5 separate regions of the Homo sapiens genome follow, and all the other regions are linked to region 2. The links are contacts of gene promoters, found by promoter capture Hi-C in blood cells and fetal thymus (Javierre and others, 2016). All regions are on one chromosome and are shown on one strand. The core of a region is centred on a gene start or on the middle of the fragment in contact, and the rest is flanking DNA. Distances in the headings are between cores, read along the strand shown.

Evidence for each region. The method cuts DNA at HindIII sites, captures the fragments that hold promoters and counts their contacts. A CHiCAGO score of 5 or more calls a contact.
Region 1: a contact is called between a fragment that was not itself captured here and the fragment with the promoter of HMGCS1 in region 2, in 1 of 17 cell types (fetal thymus). The highest score is 7.6, in fetal thymus.
Region 3: a fragment that was not itself captured here is called in contact with the fragment with the promoter of HMGCS1 in region 2 in 1 of 17 cell types (naive B cells); the score reaches 5.0 in naive B cells.
Region 4: a fragment that was not itself captured here is called in contact with the fragment with the promoter of HMGCS1 in region 2 in 1 of 17 cell types (total CD4 T cells); the score reaches 5.1 in total CD4 T cells.
Region 5: a contact is called between a fragment that was not itself captured here and the fragment with the promoter of HMGCS1 in region 2, in 1 of 17 cell types (total CD4 T cells). The highest score is 6.3, in total CD4 T cells.

The regions. Positions count from the first base shown.
Region 1 is chr5:40,687,462-40,690,375 of GRCh38, forward strand. The region is part of intron 2 of PTGER4 (prostaglandin E receptor 4); the gene reads left to right. Among named protein-coding and RNA genes, the nearest start is that of PTGER4, 9.0 kb to the left of the region's middle. The HindIII fragment of the contact is 679 bases long and covers 1,252-1,930 here.
Region 2 is chr5:43,312,023-43,314,722 of GRCh38, forward strand. HMGCS1 (3-hydroxy-3-methylglutaryl-CoA synthase 1) reads right to left here and starts at 1,390. Exons shown (of 11, transcript NM_001098272.3): 1 at 1,334-1,390. RefSeq lists enhancers at 1,160-1,299, 1,550-1,779, 1,786-2,302, 2,303-2,700. The HindIII fragment of the contact is 3,835 bases long and covers 1-2,106 here.
Region 3 is chr5:40,840,867-40,843,800 of GRCh38, forward strand. It overlaps CARD6 (caspase recruitment domain family member 6), which reads left to right and starts at 501. Exons shown (of 3, transcript NM_032587.4): 1 at 501-799; 2 at 2,286-2,843. The coding sequence starts at 517. The HindIII fragment of the contact is 1,795 bases long and covers 413-2,207 here.
Region 4 is chr5:40,807,325-40,810,138 of GRCh38, forward strand. No RefSeq gene overlaps it. Among named protein-coding and RNA genes, the nearest start is that of PRKAA1, 10 kb to the left of the region's middle. The HindIII fragment of the contact is 175 bases long and covers 1,194-1,368 here.
Region 5 is chr5:40,749,330-40,752,184 of GRCh38, forward strand. All of the region lies in intron 1 of TTC33 (tetratricopeptide repeat domain 33), which reads right to left. Among named protein-coding and RNA genes, the nearest start is that of TTC33, 5.2 kb to the right of the region's middle. The HindIII fragment of the contact is 2,881 bases long and covers 43-2,855 here.

The sequences.
Region 1 (2,914 bases), core at 341-2,840, 2.6 Mb before region 2:
AAAGTGCTTTCACCCCCTCACGAGACATTGAAGCACTACTCCGGATGTCCCCATCTCAACTGGGGTTGTCCCTGCCCTCTTGGAAACAGCAAATCAAGTAGCCTACTTAAAGTGAAGCAGAGGTTGCTCTATGTTTTCAAACATTGCAAGATGCGTGGAGTTTTTGTTTGTTTTGTCTTTTTTCTTTCCCTACTTGAAGTAAGTCTCAATTGAAATACGCTGCAAAGTAAAACTCATATTGATTCTTTTCAATCTAACCAACTTTTGAGGATGTTTTTACCTGAATTTGGACTTTTGCTTTTTAAACTCATACTTTTACTACCCTGTGAACTCCCCTTTATTGAAAAGACATTGAATGACCAGGTTCAGTGGCTTGTACTAATTGTAAACTTTTCCTCCCCCATGGAAAACTTTAAAATAGAGCATACTTTTAATATAGCCTCCTTTCATTCCCTCCTATACTAGTCGAAATCCATTGCTGCTGTGGATGAGATGAGGCACAGAAATGATTCTTTCCTTGCCTCTCATCACCTTTGATTATGAAAACCTATTATTAATTGTTTTACAACATTCCAACCTTTCTAAAAGGCCACAGAAATTTTAAAATGCTAACTCCTAATGTACTTCTTTGAATGGCTATAAATTCCATTTTAACTATTCAAAAATTTTCTTCCTTTCAGTAGTAGCCATGTTTCCTTTGAGGTTGTGGTAGGAGAAGCAACCAGCAATAAAACATTTTCAGTGTCAAAAATCTCAGAAACGTCAGGTTCAGACTTAACCAAAATTCTGTTCTGCGAGTCTCGGAGATGGCTTTACACAGTGCTTGTTAGGGAGGTAGTATCAGAAACTCTCAAGTGGAGCAACACTGCCACCTGGAGGCTTGAAGGCTCAAGTTCGCATAAACCCGGCCGTAGGTCTTTTCCAGAGACCACACACAGGACTTGATACTAACAGATTTAACGCCATCATTTCTTCTACCCTTAGGAACGTAGTATGTGATGTGAATAAAATATAGACCTCATGCTTTTTACCAACAATTCCATTGTCAGGAAATAATAATTAAACAGAAAGCCAGACTGGTAGAACAGAAAAGGCAACATGGAGGTCCAGACCAGACTCTGCCACCAACAGGGTGGGGGACATCCTAAGTTCCTCAAAACCTCTGGGTCTCAGTAACAAATACCTCATCTGAGAAAAGGCCTGTAGAGTTGAGGGAACTGCTGAGTTTCCAGGCATAGCTGAAGACCTCAAAGCTTATGGAAGGAAGAAACCAAGATGCTTTATTTTACTTTCTGTAAAGATTTTTTTTTAAATCAAGTATGCTTTGCCTTGATACTATCATTTATCCCAGCGTAGTTTCTAAAAGTATTTCAAGAGGCGATATTACACACTGCTGTTCATTCTAGTTCATTCTTGATTTAGCTGTCTTCCATATAGGAAGATATTAATTTCATCTTGGTTAGAGGCATGTCACTATTTTATTCTCTGAGATTTACAGGCCCATAATCCCATATCCAAAATATTTACGGGCAGATGAGTTTCAGAATTCAGAATTTCTTGGCTTTTAGAAAAGTAATCAATAATATATTGCAAAATATGTAATATCCCCATCAGAACTGGAACAGTAATCCTGGACCAGAACATAGGAATATTCACTCTAAGTGGAATAAATTGAACTAAATGGCTTCACAGTCTGTTCAGTTCAGTTTTGCTGCCAAAATAAGTTTAGGTCAGATTTTGCAATGAGTGTAAGTTCTCAAAACAAAACAAGTGAATAACAACAAAACAATAACAAAGGAAATGAACAAAAATCTTTTGAGAGAGGATCAGAGACCTATAGCTAATTAAGATCTAAATTCCAGTTAAGGAAGAAAAAGAAATGCAGTTCTACCTTACTGATCCAGTATCATCCAGGAGTAAGTTTAATATAAGCTTGATTTTGCAGATTAATGAAATGTATTTCTTCGAATATTTTAAAGATTCAAAGAATCTTTAAAGGAAGAAAAAAATAATTCTTCCTTCTTTTACCCAAATTTTACCCAAATTGTTGAAAATCTTTCTATAATATCCTGACCCAAATATTGTTACATCTAGTAAGTGCCAAAGGAACACATGCAAATGGTCAATGAATCGCCTTTTCCGTTGTGAACTGACTCAGCCTCAACTAAACTGTCCCTGTTCCAGGTGATTCATACACCATGAGTCATTCATTGTTACGCTGTATATAGTAAGGCAGCAACATCCTCAAGTCTTGTTAGAGATATTTGCCCCTAGTTAAATGGCTCCAGCTATGCTTTTGTTAGTTCTTTCTCCTTTTTGTGGTTTTTATGTATCTTCCTTGACTGTGAGACTCAACCTCTTCTCCCTAACCTAAAATAATTACTAAAGGCAAGAAATAATTACTAAATAATTACTTAAGATATATGGCAATTATTTTTATTTCTATACTACTATTTCTATTTCTATTTCTATGTGAATTACCACTACTACTATTTCTATATTAATTACAGATGAGATTTTTATATAAATGATCCCAGTGGAATTAGAAGTAATATCTAGGCAAAAAAAAATCATAATACTTTAAGAGTAAATTTGAGGCTGAACATGGTGGCTCACTCCTGTAATTTTAGCACTTTGGGAGACTGCAGCGGGCAGATCACTTGAGCTCAAGAGTTAGAGACCAGCCTGGGCAACATAGAAAGACCTCATCTCTACAAAAATAATAACAGTTAGCCAGGCATGATGGCACACACCTGTAGTCCCAGCTACTCAGGAGGCTACAGCAGGAGGATTGCTGGAGCCTAGGGGGTCAAGGCTGCAGTGAGCAATGATTACACCACTGCACTCCAGCCTGGGCGACAGAGTGAGACCCTGTCTCAAAAATATATATACATGTACATTTAACAAATGCATT
Region 2 (2,700 bases), core at 140-2,639:
AAATAACTGCAATTTTAAAATAAAGTTTAAAGAACACAAGCTGCTTAGGTGTCTCAAGTGCAAAGAACTACTGACACGGATAATGTTAACGACTTTCAACTGCCTCTCATCTAATAGTATCTGTGCAATAAAGTCCAAAACACATCTCAGAAGGAAAAATCTGTTAACTCTAGGAGCACTTCCATTTGTCTTAATTTTGTTGTTTATCTTGTCATTGTTTTTCATATTCATGCCTAAAACAGAGCAAATGTTAGTTAGCAGCAACCAGAACACATCATCCTACTGCAGCAGGTGGCAAGAGCATCCTCGGGAAGGTGGGGAGCTGCAGCAGAGGTGAGCAGTGAAAGCAGCTACTGATGCCTTAAGGCTAAGGCCATAGGGACAAGCATGACAAACAGGCACAACCTCACATTATTTGTTCCCCAAATCCCTCCTCCAGAGTGGATCAGAATAATCGTTTCTCTACCACTGGTCAAGGCCAGACGTGGGTTTTCAAAGACTCCATATACTTGCTTTGAAATATCCTTAGCTTAATCCAAAACCTATTTGTGGGAGGACTCTGTGAGTGCCTGCCCATTACACTGTATCACCTAAAGCTGGTCCCGAAGGTATTAGTAGGAGAGAGATGTGGGATTTCAGAACACCAAGGAAGCCTATTTTTTAAAACGTAGACAAAAAAAAATATGGAGGCAGGAAGGCGGGAGGCAGTGATCTATGAGATTTGAAGCAAGTACAGACTGAGCCCCAGTACTTAGCCAGGTCTAAATCACGGTTGTGAACGCTTTCTTGCACCTGAGCTGAGGAAGAAAAGTAATGCTACCCACTTCCCTTCTTTCCATCAACTCTATATGTGGCAGCAGGACACACCCCCTGCGAACCTACCAGCCTCCGTCTAAAGAGGATCTTGCCCATCCTTTGGCGTCCACCCTTAACCAACGCTCTGGAAACGCCTTGGTAGCCCAACTGTCTTCTCTCCCCCTCCTGACACCCCCCACTCACCTCTAGGCGGTCACAGCTGCCTCTCTGGCACCTCCAACTCCTCTGTCGTTAGAATACCTAGACCTCAACGCCCTCTCGCGTTCTCCCCTCCGCGACTCGCCTGTGTTCTCGGATCTTCTCAGATCCGCTACGGTCGGCCTCAGGTCCCTCACGAGGGAACCCCCGCCCGGCCCCGCTCACGGTGCCCCATCCTCCCGGGCAAAGTCCACGCCTACGTCCTGACCCAGAGCCCCAGCTCCTTCGGGCCTAGTCAAGGACACCGCCTCTGTCTGGCCCACACCCCGCCCGCGGCACCTCCGCAGCCCAGTTCTACTCCCCAGCGCGGGACACTCACCAAGCGTGACCGAGCGGCAGCAGAGGAAAGGGAGTGAGCCACGAAAGGACAGTCCGCGGCGCCTCCCCTTCGCCACCAGCTTTATAGCCGCCAACCCACCCGACTCCGGCACCGCCGAGAGTCGCTGGGAGGCGGGACGGTGGCTCCCACAGCCAATCGCGGCCGGTAGAGTTGCCCGGCAGCGCCCGCCCCCCAGTCCGGCTTCTACCAATCAAAAGGAAACTAGAGGCGATGACTCGCTAGGATTTTCCCTCGTGGCTGGAAGGGCGGGGAGAAGAGGCGGGGACAAAGTCTCAGGGCCGAGGAAGTGGTGTGAGAGACTGACGTGAGGTGGCACGAGAGCCCAGTTGCCAATGACGGAGCTGCGAGATACGGCGAGAGCCAACGGGAGCGGAGTGAGAGGTTCTCCGACCAATTGGGACTAAGTGAGAGGAGATGCGGGCCAATGGGTACTCCGCGTCCCACCGCTGGAGAGATGGTCAAATGTGGGAGGCGAGGTGGTCCCAGCTTGGGAGTCTGTCAGGTTGCCTAGCAACCAGAACTAGGCTTCACCTGAAAGATTTCTGAAATACTGTACTTGATTTGAATTCAGTCTTAACGTTTTCTAGCAAAGTGTGCGTAGATTGCAAATTGGAGCAGAATACTTCACCCAGAACTTGTATATGTGTAAATAGTCTAAATACCCGATTTGTAAATACTCAAATATTGTCTCCTTTATTCAAAACTACCTTGACTTAAAGAAAACAGAACAAACAAAAGTGCTCTTGAGACAAAGCTTTCTAACTAAACCTAAAACAAAATGGTTTCAGGATTAGGCATCCGTGGGGAGGGTGCAGAGCCTTGCCTGTGAAGGGAAGTTGATACTGAATTCAAGGATTTTTGCCAGGCCATGCACTCTGAGGAAAGGGACTCCATTTGGCCTGTTGCCCACTGTATCTTCTAAGCTTCATATGTGGTACCTGCCAAGTAAAAGGCTGTGGAAAGGCCACGTAATTGTCGGCATAGTAAATCCATCGGATACGGACTGCCTAACTCCCCCAGCAAATAGAGAGGAGCAATTCAAGCTAGAGGAATTCACTGAAACACTATTTGGGGGAATCCAAAGGAGGACACTTGTGGCTTTGCAATAAACTCTGCCTCTATCTGGTCAGAGAGAGAAGCCATAATACTTAGCTTTGGTGGGGGACCATGAGTGAGGTTCGGAGTTGTTTGTATCTCTCCCCATCTCAATTTAATTAACAGGAATGCTATTGATAAGGGGTCATTGGTAATTCTGTGATTCACACAATTATTGTTATGGGAGATTCTTTTAACCACTATAGATGCTAACCTAGTAAGACACATTCTCAGCAGCAAAGTGGCAAAAT
Region 3 (2,934 bases), core at 60-2,559, 2.5 Mb before region 2:
AGATTCTTGTACATACATCTTCGGGCATTTGCTCAATTATTTCCTTAAGATAATTTCCTAGAACTGGAATTGCTGGGTTGAAGGATATGAAGTTTTATTTTTGTCTGTCTTCAACTTTATTTATTTATTGCTGTATATTGCCATATTGCCCACCAAATATCAATTAATAATTTACATTCTTGGCATCATAGTATAGTTCTCTGAGCAGGGAATACCTAGTCCAACCTGAAGTTCAAGAGCGACTTCTTGGAGGAGGTGACCCTGGGTCTGAGTCATGGTGAGAATTTATCAAGACTTCAAAAGAGCAGATAAATAATCCACAAGGACCCCGGATCAGAGAGTGCTCCGAGCTGGGTTGCCCCACTGTGCTTGTATCTGCACTCTCCAACACTAGGCATCATTGACATGTTAAAGCTTAGCCAAATAGAATTGTTCTTTGTCATTCTTTTTTTAACTTTTACTTATTCATTAGGATGATTTCATAATATATTTCCTGGTTTAGAGGAAACAGGAACAATGGCTACCGAGAGTACTCCCTCAGAGATCATAGAAAGAGAAAGAAAAAAGTTGCTTGAAATCCTTCAACATGATCCTGATTCTATCTTAGACACGTTAACTTCTCGGAGGCTGATTTCTGAGGAAGAGTATGAGACTCTGGAGAATGTTACAGATCTCCTGAAGAAAAGTCGGAAGCTGTTAATTTTGGTACAGAAAAAGGGAGAGGCGACCTGTCAGCATTTTCTCAAGTGTTTATTTAGTACTTTTCCACAGTCAGCTGCCATTTGCGGCTTAAGGCATGGTAAGTTGACTTTGTATACTTTTTGGGGTGAGAGGAAGGGGGCAGACTTTCTGAAAAAGAAAACAAAATGAAAGAAAATTGTTGCCTTTTATTTTTGTTAGTCTTTTTCTGGAGATAATTTTCATTGAAATATGAAATAGGGAAAAACTGGAATTTAAAAAGTTTCTGAAATTTAACATCTTATTGGTCTACTGAATCGATAATTTGTTTTTCAGACTGTACTCAAAACTTGAAGTTGTTTTAGTGCTAACAAACTGCTCATTATTCTGGCAGTAACATGCTAAAATCTCACAGTTGGAAGGAAAATACTTTAATAATAACACAATCCAGGGTTTGTTTTTCAAGTAGATGAATTCGTGGATATTTACAGTGCCAAGACCACAAGCTGTATCTTTCACTTAGTATAGCCGTTTTGAAAATACAAGGAAAATAATTTTTAACACATAGATGGCAAATCAGTAGTTTCATTTTTTTGGTGATAAGAATGCCAGCAGCAGCTGTTTTCTGGAGCAATTCCAGTGCTAATTCTTAAATGGTTCAAAGATAACTAGTAGTCCATGAAAAAGCAATTCTTCCAGTTATTTAGCAATTCTGTAAATTACTACTAGGACTAGGTCTAGCTCTTTTTCTAGGAATCTAAAAAAAAATTCAAAATTATTTTAAGGGATGTTAGAGAGGTAGAGGCTCAGATAAAAAGGTGAATGTTAGTGATACCTAATTTAGGACAAGATTTATATGCTTAGAAATTTTTCTTTTATTATTTCTAAAGCACACTATTCCAAATAGAGCCATTTGCTTACTGATTAGAAATTATTTGTGATCAGATTTCATTAGCAATGACCCCAAGAGACGTGAGTCTGTTGTGAGTCACAGTAAGTCCACAAGTAAACACTGTTCATATGATTCAAATTTTTCGTTTTATTCACTTACCCTGTAAGGTTGCTAGGAAGGACTCAAACTTTAAGCAAGACAGTGGTGTGATCTGATTTTTTTTTTTAGTGGAAAAAAGAAAGTTCTGAAAGTTGACATGTTGACATGCAAGTTATATAGGAGGTGTTAGGTATTCCTGTCCTCCAGTGAAATAAGAGGTGGCTGGGCGCTGTGGCTCACACCTGTAATCCCAGCACTTTGGGAGGCCGGGGCAGATGGATCACCTGAGGTCAGGAGTTTGAGACCAGCCTGACCAACATAGTGAAACACTGTCTCTACTAAAAATACAAAAATTAGCTGGGCATCATGGCGCATGCCTGTAATCCCAGCTACTTGGGAGACTGAGGCAGGGGAATCACCTGAACCCGGGAGGTTGAGGTTGCAGTGAGCCCAGATCGTGCCATTGCACTCCAGCCTCGGCAACAAGAGTGAAACTCTGTCTCAAAAAATAAATAAATAAATAAAAGGAGAGGGATGAAGCTTTGAGGCCTCAGGAACTCTAGCTGTTATACAGCTTCTTTTTCTTAATTGGGAAAAACAATTCTTTTCTTTGCAGAAGTTTTAAAACATGAGAATACAGTACCTCCTCAATCTATGGGGGCAAGCAGTAATTCAGAAGATGCTTTTTCTCCTGGAATAAAACAGCCTGAAGCCCCTGAGATCACAGTGTTCTTCAGTGAGAAGGAACACTTGGATTTGGAAACCTCTGAGTTTTTCAGGGACAAGAAAACTAGTTATAGGGAAACAGCTTTGTCTGCCAGGAAGAATGAGAAGGAATATGACACACCAGAAGTCACATTATCATATTCAGTTGAGAAAGTTGGATGTGAAGTTCCAGCAACTATTACATATATAAAAGATGGACAGAGATATGAGGAGCTAGATGATTCTTTATACTTAGGAAAAGAGGAATATCTAGGATCTGTTGACACCCCTGAAGATGCAGAAGCCACTGTGGAAGAGGAGGTTTATGATGACCCAGAGCACGTTGGATATGATGGTGAAGAGGACTTCGAGAATTCAGAAACCACAGAGTTCTCTGGTGAAGAACCAAGTTATGAGGGATCAGAAACCAGCCTTTCATTGGAGGAGGAACAGGAGAAAAGTATAGAAGGTATGGAAATATCTTGTATAGTTAGTTAGGCAACAACTTAATAAGTTAATAAGCTTGCCATGACATAATGGGGATGGGGGATGAAAAAGGG
Region 4 (2,814 bases), core at 31-2,530, 2.5 Mb before region 2:
AGGGAAAATCTTGGCACCGTTCACAAGGACTCTGTCGGCCCATCTCCATGTGGATGTGGTTGGTTAGTCCTGGTTGGATTCCTTAGTGTTAATAAGAAGATATCAACCCTGTCCACCCCTCAGTTGACTTGCTGATTATCAGACGTATGGATCTATACATAATCAGCAGTACAAATTATATTCATTTGCCAGAAGACGTAACTCTAAATTCTTTGGTGCCCTATTCTTATCAGCTAAGAGAAAGTATATCCTTGGATGGGCACCTGAAGAATATGCTGATAGCCTAAACTGTACCCTTGGATCATTTGAGACCAATAGCAAGGGAGAGTAATTTGTCCTGTTTTTTGGTCACTGTTAGAATTGCTTTTACTGAATTATACTTTGGTAGTACAAAGAGCTGATAAACATGTAGATGCCTTTAGTAAGCTAATTATTTGACTCTCCATTCAAACCAGGAATTTAGTCTCCCTCAAAACAAAATTATTTAAAAATCTATCCAACATTAGCTGGGCGCGGTAGCTCACCCCTGTAATCCCAGCACTTTGGGATCCGTCCACCGAGGCGGGAGGATCACAAGGTCAGGAGATCGAGACCATCCTGGCTAACACGGTGAAACTCCATCTCTACTAAAAATACAAAAAATTAGGCAGGCATGGTGGCACGCGCCTGTAGTCCCAGCTACTCCGGAGGCTGAGGCAGGAGAATCGCTTGAGGCAGAGGTTGCAGTGAGCTAAGATTGTGCCATTGCACTCCAGCCTGGGCTACACAGCGAGACTCTGTCTCAAAAGAAAAAAAAAATCTGTCCAACATTTATTTGAGTGGAAAGGCAGAGAAAGAGGACGGCTGGATCAGTGCCCCAGCAAACAATGACCTTGTGGTAACCAGACTCTGACTTCTTAGACGTGTGTTTGTGGGTTGGGGAGTTTTATCCGCCCCTGACCAAGTGGTTTGTCAAAGTAGTTCTGTTTAACCACATCCCTCTGAGAAGAGCTCAGGTAAGAAGCTCAGGTAAATAGAAATTCTAGTGATGTTTTCAGGCCTCAGGGGGCGGGTTGGGGGTGGTGGTGGTGGTGTGTATAATATCACTTATAGATTACCTCCTGTGCAGCTGGCCCAGCTCAGCTCCCTCCAACCTTGTGCTGCTGCCCTCCAACCTCAGGCCCTGGGGGATGTTCTAAGAAACAAATCTGCAAAGCTTTTTCAATTCAGCTGACTCACACTGACAGCTAACTCTAACAAAGATGTAGTCACTTAAAGGCATGCATTTTAGTATTCTAACCTCATCCCTTGATTTATCTTACTTTCCTTCCTCTAAGATCCTTATTTTCTTGTTTATTTATTACTTACTTTGCTGGATATTATTCTCTAAGCTTCCCAAATACTTTCTGGTTTGTTTGTTTTGTTTTGTTTTTGGGGGATGGAGTCTCACTCTGTCACCCAGGCTGGAGTGCAATGGCACGATTCCAGCTCACTCCAACCTCTGCCTCCCAGGCTCGAGTGATTCTTCCACCTCAGCCTCCCAAGTAGCTGGGACCACAGATGCGGCCACCATGACTGGCTAATTTTTGTATATTTGGTAGAGATGGGGTTTCACCCTGTTGGCCAGGCTGGTCTCGAACTCCTGACCTCAGGCGATCCGCCCACCTCGGCTACCCAAAGTACTGGGATTACAGTCATGAGCCACAGTGCCCTGCCTTCCCAAATGCTTTTTGAAAATAGACTTTATTTTTCAGGACAGCTTTAGATTTACAGAAAAATTGTGAAACTAATATAGAGTTATCATATACCCTACATGCAGTTTTCCCGATTATCAACACCTTACATTCTGTAGTACATTTGTTATGATTTGTGAACCAATCAATATTGATATATTATGAGTAACTAAAGTCTTCACTTTATTCCACACCTTAGTTTTTACCTAAGTTCCTTTTTTTGTTCTAGGATCCCATCCAGGATACTTTATTTATGTATTTATGTATTTATTTATTTATTTATTTTTTAGATTGGAGTCTCGCTCTGTCGCCCAGGTTGGAGTGCAGTGGCGGGATCTCGGCTCACTGCCACTTCCGCCTCCTGGGTTCAAGCGATTCTTGTGCCTCAGCCTCCCAAGTAGCTGGGACTACAGGTGTGTGCCACCTGTAGCAGTGCTAATTTTTGTATTTTTAGTAGAGATGGAGTTTCACCATGTTGGCCAGGCTAGTCTGGAACTCCTAACCTTGTGATCCACCTGCATTGGCCTCCCAAAGTGCTGGGATTACAGGCATGAGCCACTGCTCCGAGCCTTGTCTTATACTTAGATGTTATGGATTGAATGTTTGTGTCCCTCCCAAAATTCATGTATTGAAATTCTAATTCTCCGTGTGATTATATTAGGAGGTGGGTCTTTGGTGGGTAATTAGGTCATGAAGGTAGAGCCCTCATAAATGAAAGCGACTCCAGAGAAGTCTCTGGCTCTTTCCTTTCACCACATGAGGCTACAACAAAAAGTCAGCAGTCTGCAAACCCAAAGGAGGCCCGCATCAGAACCCAACCATACTGGCACCCTGATTTCAAGCTTGCAGCTTCCATTACTGTGAGAAATTTCTGTTGTTTATAAAGCCACCCAGTCTATGGTATTCTGTTACAGCAACTGAATGAGATAGGGGAAAAAAAAACACTTTTTTATAGTTTCAAACACCACTCAATACAACACTTTTGACACCAGATTCTCCAGCAGACACCAACTGCATGTCCTATAATTCCGTTCTGACTTATTTCTATGTTTGTCTACTTAGAGGTAATGCCAGATCCCATAGGTTAAGGGTTCAGTCTCAT
Region 5 (2,855 bases), core at 233-2,732, 2.6 Mb before region 2:
AAAATTCTTTATATCTGTGTACATTTTGGAGAATAGTGTTTAAGCTTTCATTCCATTCTTAAAGGAGTCTATAACCACAAGGAGATTTTGATCAAATGATCAACTAGAGAAACAGAGAAAAAAAGCAATGAACCAAAAAACATAAAGAAAAGAAAAGCAACGAATCAGAGGGCTTTATGAAACTACCAAAGAATGGGCACTGTGGGAGTATGGGAGGGAGAGAAATGAAATACTGCATAAGTTCGAGCAGGTTTCAAGGTCTTCATTACTGATGCACATGGCTGAAGTGATGTATAAGTACAGGCCTATCTCAGAGTTGTTGCACGGTCAGTTCCAGACCACTGCAATAAAGTGAATAATACTAAAAAGTGGGTCACACAAATGCTTTGGTCTCCCTATGCATATAAAAGTTATGTTTACACTATACTATAGTCTAATTAAGTGTTATAGCATCATATCTTTAAAAATGTACATGCCTTGCTAGGTGCAGTGGCTCACGCCTGTAATCCCAGCACTCTGGGAGGCTGAGGTGGGCAGATCACGAGGTCAGGAGTTTGAGACCAGCCTGACCAACATGGTGAAACCCCGTCTCTACTAAAAATACAAAAATTATCCGGGCGTGGTGGCATGTGCCTGTAATCCCAGCTATTCAGGAGGCTAAGGCAGGAGAATCGCTTGAACTCGGGAGGCAGAGGTTGCAGTGAGCTGAGATTGCACCACTGCATTCCAGCCTGAGCAACAGAGCGAAACTCCATCTCAAAAAAAAAAAAAAAAGTACATGCCTTAATTTAAAAATATTTTATTGCTAAGAAACGCCAATGATCATCTGAACCTTCAGCAAGTCCTAATCTTTTTACTGATGGAGAGTTTTTCCTCAATGTTGATGGCTGTTGACTGATCAGGGTGGTGGTTACTGAAGGCTGGTGGCTGTGACAATTTTTTAAAATAAGACAACAGCGGTCAGGCATGTTGGCTCACGCCTGTAATCCTAGCACTTTGTGAGGCTAAGGCAGGTAGAGGGCTTGAGCCCAGGAGTTTGAGACCAGCGAAATCTCATCTCTACAAAAAATTTTTAAAAACTATCCAGGCGTGGTGGTACACATCTGTAGTCCCACCTACTCAGGAGACAGAGGCAGGAGGATCACCTGAGCCCAGGAGGTTAAGGCTGCAGTGAGCCATGACCATGCCACCGAACTCCACCCTGGCACCCTGGGTGACAGGATAAGACTTTGTCTCCAAAAAAAAAACAACAACAATGAAGTTTGCTGCATCGACTGATTCTCCCTTTCACAAAAAATTTTTCTGTAGCATGCAGTCCTATTTGGTAGCATTTTACCCACAGCAGAACTTCTTTCAAAATTAGAGTCGATACTGTCAAACTCTGCCACTGCTTTATCAACTAAGTTTATATAATGTACTCTAAGTCCTTTGTTGTCATTTCAACCATGTTAACAGCATCTTCACCAGGCGTAGATTCCATCTCAAGAAACCACTTTCTTTGTTCATCCCTAAGAAGCAACTCCTCATCCTTTCAAATTTTATCATGAGATTGCAGGAATTCAGTCACATCTTCAGGCTCCACTTCTAATTTGAGTTATCTTACTATTTCCACCACATCTGCAGTTATTTCCTCCACTGAAGTCTTGAACCCCTCAAAGTTATCCATGAAGGTTGTAATCAACTTCTTCCAAATTCCTGTTAATGTTGATATTTTGACCACCTCCCATGAATCACAAATATTCCTAATGGTTATCTAGAATTAGAATCCTTTCCAGAAAGTTTTCAATTGACTTTGTCCAAATGAATCAGAAGAATCACTATCTATGGCAGCTATAGCCTTACAAAATGTATTTCTTCAATAGTAAGACTTGAAAGTGAAAATTGCTCCTTGATCCATGGGCTGAGGAAAAGATGCTGTTGTTAATAGGCATGAAAACAACATTAATCTTGTACATCTCCATCAGAACTCTTGGATGACAGGGTGCACTGTCAATGAGCAGTAAAATTTTGAAAGGAATCTTTTCTTCATGAGCAGGTCTCAATAGTGGGCTTAAAATATTCAGTAAACCATGCTGTAAACAGATGTGCCATCATCCAGGCTTTGTTGTTCCATTTATAGAACACAGGCAAAGTACATTTAGCATAATTCTCAAGGGCAACAGGATTTTGAGAACGGTAAATAGACATTGGCTTCAATTTAAAGTTCCCAGCTACATTAGCCCTCACAAAGGAGTGAGCCTGTCTTCTGATGCTTTAAAGCCAAGCATTGACTTCTCTGCAGCTATGAAAGTCCTGGAGAGTATCTTCTTCCAATAGAAACCTGTGTCATCCACATTGAAAATCTTATGGCCATGCGCAGTGGCTCACACCTGTAATCTCAGCACTTTGGGGGGCCAAGGCGGAAGGATCACAAGGTCAAGAGATAGAGACCATCCTGGCCAACATGGTGAAGCCCTGTCTCTACTAAAAATACAAAAATTAGCTGGGCGTGGTGGCGCACGCCTGTAGTCCCAGCTGCTCGGGAGGCTGAGGCAGGAGAATCGCTTGAACCCAGGAGGCGGAGGTTGCAGTGAGCCAAGATCATGCCATTGCACTCCAGCCTGGGCAACAGAGTGAAACTCCGTCTCAAAAGAAAAAAAAAAAAAAAAAGAAAATCTCATTTAGTGTAGCCAACTTCATCAATTATCTTAGCTAGATCTTTTCTGGATAACATCAGCATTTGCTGCTTTACTTTGCACTTTCATGTTATGAAAATGGCTTCTTAAACCTCACAAACGAACCTCTAGCAGTTTCAAACTTTACTTTGGCAGCTTCTTCACCTCTCTCAGCATTCACAGAATTGAAGAGAGTTAGAA